Regions from separate parts of the Homo sapiens genome. Here region 1 is linked to region 2. The links are contacts of gene promoters, found by promoter capture Hi-C in human tissues and cell types (Jung and others, 2019). All regions are on one chromosome and are shown on one strand. Each heading gives the region's core, a stretch centred on a gene start or on the middle of the fragment in contact. The rest is flanking DNA. Distances are from core to core; before and after follow the strand shown. Region 1 overlaps AGPAT3 (1-acylglycerol-3-phosphate O-acyltransferase 3). Region 2 holds the start of PWP2 (PWP2 small subunit processome component).

What was found. Contacts are between HindIII fragments. The study calls those that stand out against the background at their distance.
Region 1: a fragment that was not itself captured here is called in contact with the fragment with the promoter of PWP2 in region 2 in 3 of the 25 tissues and cell types used here (lymphoblastoid cells, mesendoderm cells and thymus).

The regions. Positions count from the first base shown.
Region 1 is chr21:43,980,441-43,983,140 of GRCh38, forward strand. It overlaps AGPAT3 (1-acylglycerol-3-phosphate O-acyltransferase 3), which reads left to right. Exons shown (of 10, transcript NM_020132.5): 9 at 549-747; 10 at 1,864-2,700. The coding sequence ends at 1,952. Among named protein-coding and RNA genes, the nearest start is that of TRAPPC10, 31 kb to the right of the region's middle. RefSeq lists enhancers at 766-1,527, 1,528-2,289, 2,290-2,700. The HindIII fragment of the contact is 5,682 bases long and covers 1-2,700 here.
Region 2 is chr21:44,106,067-44,108,766 of GRCh38, forward strand. It overlaps PWP2 (PWP2 small subunit processome component), which reads left to right and starts at 1,333. Exons shown (of 21, transcript NM_005049.3): 1 at 1,333-1,368. The coding sequence starts at 1,351. It overlaps TRAPPC10 (trafficking protein particle complex subunit 10), which reads left to right. Exons shown (of 23, transcript NM_003274.5): 23 at 1-486. RefSeq lists silencers at 879-1,395, 986-1,369. The HindIII fragment of the contact is 7,831 bases long and covers 1-2,700 here.

The DNA of each region.
Region 1 (2,700 bases), core at 60-2,559, 130 kb before region 2:
CACCAGAGGCAGAACCTTCTGCAGGTGGCCCTGGCCAGGCTCCTCTCTCCTCCCAGCTCCTCATTAGCCTCCTTTGCCAGGCTAGGAAACCGAGGTATGCGAGGTTAAGGAACTTTCCTTGGGCCGTGCAGCTGAGAGTGCGCTTTGCAGGGATTTGCATCCAGGCCGCGGGACTCACACAGGCCACACCTGCCACCCCCACTGCCTCTGGCTCGTGGGAGGTGTGGGATGTGGCGGGTGGCCGGGGCAGTGCTGGGCAGGCAGGTGTTGGTATTCACAACGTTGCTTTCTTGACCGATTATTTTCCTGGGAGACTTCCTCAGTCAAAGGGTTGATATGCTTGCGAGCTCTCGATGCACGCTATCAGATTCTCCAAAAACGTACAGCCAGCTTCGCCTGCACCTGCAGCTTCTGTGATTTGTGCTCTTAATTGACGTGGCGCTTTTTTTAGGTTGAGTCGTTTTTCATTGCCAACAATCTTCTCCTGCATTGAAATAATAGCTTGTAAAGAAGCCTCACGCTTCCTTTTTCTCTGTTGACTCTTCTAGGACGCGCTCCAGGAGATATATAATCAGAAGGGCATGTTTCCAGGGGAGCAGTTTAAGCCTGCCCGGAGGCCGTGGACCCTCCTGAACTTCCTGTCCTGGGCCACCATTCTCCTGTCTCCCCTCTTCAGTTTTGTCTTGGGCGTCTTTGCCAGCGGATCACCTCTCCTGATCCTGACTTTCTTGGGGTTTGTGGGAGCAGGTAATGGACACTGTCGCTAACAGCTCACACTCTGACGGGCCTCACAGTATCAGCCACAGGGTCCGGGACCTGGTGACTCATCACAGTGGCTGTGGGAGGCAGGGGCCTGGCTGTTATGGACCCTGGAGCCAGGATCCCCCCACGGCCTGCGGGCCTCAGAGCCTGGATTCTTGCACTGAGCTGAGGGTCGCCTCCCCAGAGAGCCGAACGGCCGCCACCTGGCGCCATCCCCACTGCAGCCCCACTGGCTGGCGCCCTTGAGGATGCCGACGAGAGGGTCCCCGAGAGGGTCCCCAGCCCCCCTGTCTGCTTTTGGGCTCTTAGGGGTCAGGCTGGGCTGGCCATTCGGGAGGTTTAAGCAGGACATCATCATTCAGCTCCTCCCCATTGACCCCCAGTGACTTCCCCACTGTGTGCCCACCCCAGGCACAATGCCAGGCCCACCACGACTCATCAGCTAGCCTGGGGCCGAACAGACACCCAGCCTGTCCCTGTGGTGAGCTCCGGCGCCCACCCACACCCCGTAATTGAGGGGTCTCTGTCCGTGGAGACACAGTCCGTGTGCATCGCCCCGTGAGCCGACTCCCCAGGCCCAGCAGCTGGGCCAGCTCCTCCCCTGCTCCTGCCGCCCCTGCCAGGGGCCTTGGTGGGAGGGGTCCTGAGAGGCAGTGACTGCCACCAGCCTCTCCCATTGGACTACGAGATGACTTGAGGCCACCCACAGAGGACAGGATGTGACCTGCTTACATCCGAGGGTCCTGCTCGTCCACCTCTGTCACCTGTTGGGTTTGCAAGGCCGAGCTGTTAGAATGCCCCGAAGCCCTTCTGCTCCCACCAGCCAAAGACCCAGAGGGGCAGGCAGGGCAAGGTCCACGTGTCCACCTGCCTCGGACCCAGCCGGTCAGAAGACGTGCCCCTCACCCCTGCCTGAGCAGACCACGGTCTGAGAGGGCTGTCTCCCCGCGGGCCACACCTACTCACTGACAGCAGAGGCCACTGGGTGCGGGGCAGAGGGACAGGGTCTGGGGCAGAGGAAGGAAGCCCCAGTAACACGTTTTACAGCAAAAAGGCAAAGTCATCCGTCTCACCTCTTCTCTCTCTCTCCTGTCTTGAAAGCTTCCTTTGGAGTTCGCAGACTGATAGGAGTAACTGAGATAGAAAAAGGCTCCAGCTACGGAAACCAAGAGTTTAAGAAAAAGGAATAATTAATGGCTGTGACTGAACACACGCGGCCCTGACGGTGGTATCCAGTTAACTCAAAACCAACACACAGAGTGCAGGAAAAGACAATTAGAAACTATTTTTCTTATTAACTGGTGACTAATATTAACAAAACTTGAGCCAAGAGTAAAGAATTCAGAAGGCCTGTCAGGTGAAGTCTTCAGCCTCCCACAGCGCAGGGTCCCAGCATCTCCACGCGCGCCCGTGGGAGGTGGGTCCGGCCGGAGAGGCCTCCCGCGGACGCCGTCTCTCCAGAACTCCGCTTCCAAGAGGGAGCCTTTGGCTGCTTTCTCTCCTTAAACTTAGATCAAATTTTTTGGTTTTTAATCAGTTATCTTGGGAACTTAACCTGGCCCCTCACCTCTTCTGCACCCCCCGCCCCCGAAACTGTCTCGTAATGAATTTCTGCTGTCCTCCTGGGAGTGGACGGCCGGGTCCCGTCCCCCGGGAGCATCGCTCGGCTCAGCACCTTGGCTCCCAGTGGGGGCCCCGTGGAGGGCGCCCGTAGTGATAAGCACACCGGCACGAACGTCAGGTCCATTCCTCGAAGTCGGAGCCCTCACTCTGCCCTGTCCTGGGGCTGGCTGAGGGCGAACGCCCCACCTCACTTTCTAGAGCCCTGTCTGTCCTAGCTCCTATCTGACCTTGTGTGTAAATACGTACATCTGTTTTTAAAGTGGATGGGCCCCTGAGAACTCAGTGAAATGCAGAGTTCTCCATGCACCTAAAGCT
Region 2 (2,700 bases), core at 83-2,582:
TACAGAATTAGCAGAGAAAATACACACAGGCTTCTATTCAAATTTTCTTTAGTGCTTAAAATTAAGTTTTAAAATGAAATCAGACACTGCAGGTTTGTATATAAAATGAAAAGCTATACTACTTTTTACAAAAGGGCAAACTGGGCTGATGTAAATGTTTTACTTTCAACTGTGTTCTTTAAAATAAATCCTACCTGGTTTTTAAATTTTATTTTTCATGAAAATGCTCCTTTCTCTACATTTATTCATCCTATATACATCAGGCTGTAAGACCCCCCCCAGTCATCATTAATACAATGTGTTGGGATTCTGTGACTGGAAAAGGTGACAAGTTGGTGACTTTGACACTGCAGGTATTCCATTTTCATGGTTTACTATGAAAAGTCATTTTTCATATTATGTAATATATTGTTAGATTAAAACCATTGTATTAAGACTTTAAAATGTAAGCATTGTAATTCTGAAAATACACATTTTAAGAAGAAACTATTTTGCACTGGATCTTTTGCTGCGACATGGTGTGACAACAGTATGTAATGTGAAGATTTTATTGTTTTATCTCCCTAGTCCTTGTTCCTGACTCTTGGGCATAGATTATTTGCCTTTTGGGAAACATTCGGATTATTTTTTTTTTTTTTTTTTTTTTTTTCTCTGAGACAGTCATGCTCTGTTGCCTAGGCTGGAGTGCAATGGCGCGATCTGGGCTCACTGCAGCCTCCGCCTCCCAGGTTCAAGCCATTCTCCTGCCTCAGCCTCCCGAGTAGCTGGGACTACAGGCATGCGCCTCATTTTTATACTTTAGTAGAGATGATGTTTCACCATGTTGGCCAGGCTAGTCTCGAACTGCTGACCTCAGGTCATCCACCCGCCTCAGTCTCCCAGGCGTGAGCCACCGCACCGGCCAGCATTCGGGACTTTATTCATAATTCCTTACCCAACAGTTCACAAGAACGAAGACATTTGGGTGTGCAGCGCTCTCATGTTGTGGACGCTGCTGTGCCAGGCTGGGCGTCCGTGCGGAGCGCGCCCAGCGCTGGAGCGCGCCTAAGAGGCGCCCTGCAGTGTGGCTCCGGGGTGTGGGCGGGGCCCGGAGAAGGCCCCCGCCTTGGGAGGGGTTGGGCCTCGCGTTCAAACTCCGCCTCGGGGCGGGGCGAGGGCGACGCAGCTCCTCCTGCCTCCTGGGCCGCTGCGGACGGTGGTGCGCGACCCCGTCCCGGGCGCGCGCGCTGTGGGCGGTGCACGCCGTCGCTTCCCGGAAGTGCGTGCTGTGGGCGGTGCCGCGCGGACCCCCGGGAAGTGTCTCTGTGGGCGGCCGCCGGGTTGAGCTGCGGCACACGTGCGACGGCCGTGATGAAGTTCGCTTACCGGGTGAGCGCGGGCGGCGGGCGGTCTGTTGGATCGGCGCGGCTCTTCCGGTGGACGGCGCCTGAGCTGGCTCCGGGCGGGCTGGGGGCGCGTGGTCTGCTTTTGCGGCGTCTGGCCGCGTGGGGGTCGCCGGCTGTCTGCGCGCCCGTGGCCTCGGGGACGCGGGGCTGTGGTGGGGCTCCTGGGAGAGCTGGGACGGAGGCGCCGACGGCTTCTCGGAGGGAACAGGGACATTTGTCGGGGTCCCGGGATATTTTTAACCTGAGTATGGCCCAACCTAAAGGCTGGAGTTGGTGCAGTCGGGGAGGGCACAGCACCCTCGGGAGGGATGAGGAGGTGGGACGGGGCGGGGACGCGGGCGCGCGCAGGCGGGGTGAGAACAGCAGGGACCCGGGGCCCGGGACTGGTCCCTAACGAGCGAGCGTCCAGGTGAGCGGAAGGGCGGGGAACCCAGGTGTGAGCTCTGTTTCCCGAGGCCGGAGGGAATTCCTGAGGCGGACGCCCTCAGCTTTGAGAGCCAGGGAAGACTTGTCCCAGATGTGAAGTGCAGGAGGCGGGTGAGACAGGTAATAAGAGGGGGCCGTGGAGCCGGCCTGGGGGTCTCTGAAGCGTTTGCTACAGCTGGCCGGTTATGGGGACGCCTGTGTTTCCCACAGTGGCCCTGACCGTTGCGCTTCCAGGGTTGCACGGGCCGCCTGCTGCTGAGCCCACCGTGTACTACACTTGTCCTGTCCGAAACTGGGCATGGTACTGGCCCCTCAGAGTGCTGCTCCTGTGTCCCCTGTGCTGGTGGAGCCACCGCTGTGTGCCCAGCACCAAACCAGAAACCATATCCACGTCCTCACAGGCCAGGACTTCATCCGCTCCACATTCCTACTGCAAGGTGGCAAAAAATGTGCCTTGGAGCCTGCCTGGCCGCTTAAAGTCCTTCTGCTGACCAAGCTCCTCCCTGAGGTCCTGAGGGCGCTGCCCACTCACAGCTTCAGGGCCTGGCTGGTGCCTTCCCATTTAGATTCCAGCTCAGGTGACCCTTCCAGGTGCCTCTCCGTGACCACCGTCTAAAGTAGCCCCTGCTCCCACACTTCTCATCCCCCTCCTGCTAGAGAGAGAATATAAGGTGTGCGTGTCTGTGCGCATGGCAGTCTCCAGTGAACGCTCGTGCTCGTGAGTTAGTAAATAGGATGCTGGCTTACCACACTTCTGGAAGCCCTGAGTTCTAAGCACTTTTGGGGTGCTGTTCCATTGTTGCAGCTTTTTTCTTGGTGAAGTGTGGGCTCCATGCCCCTCTTCACCTGGCAGACGCCTCCTGTCTTGGGAGGCTTCCTCAGTGCTCAC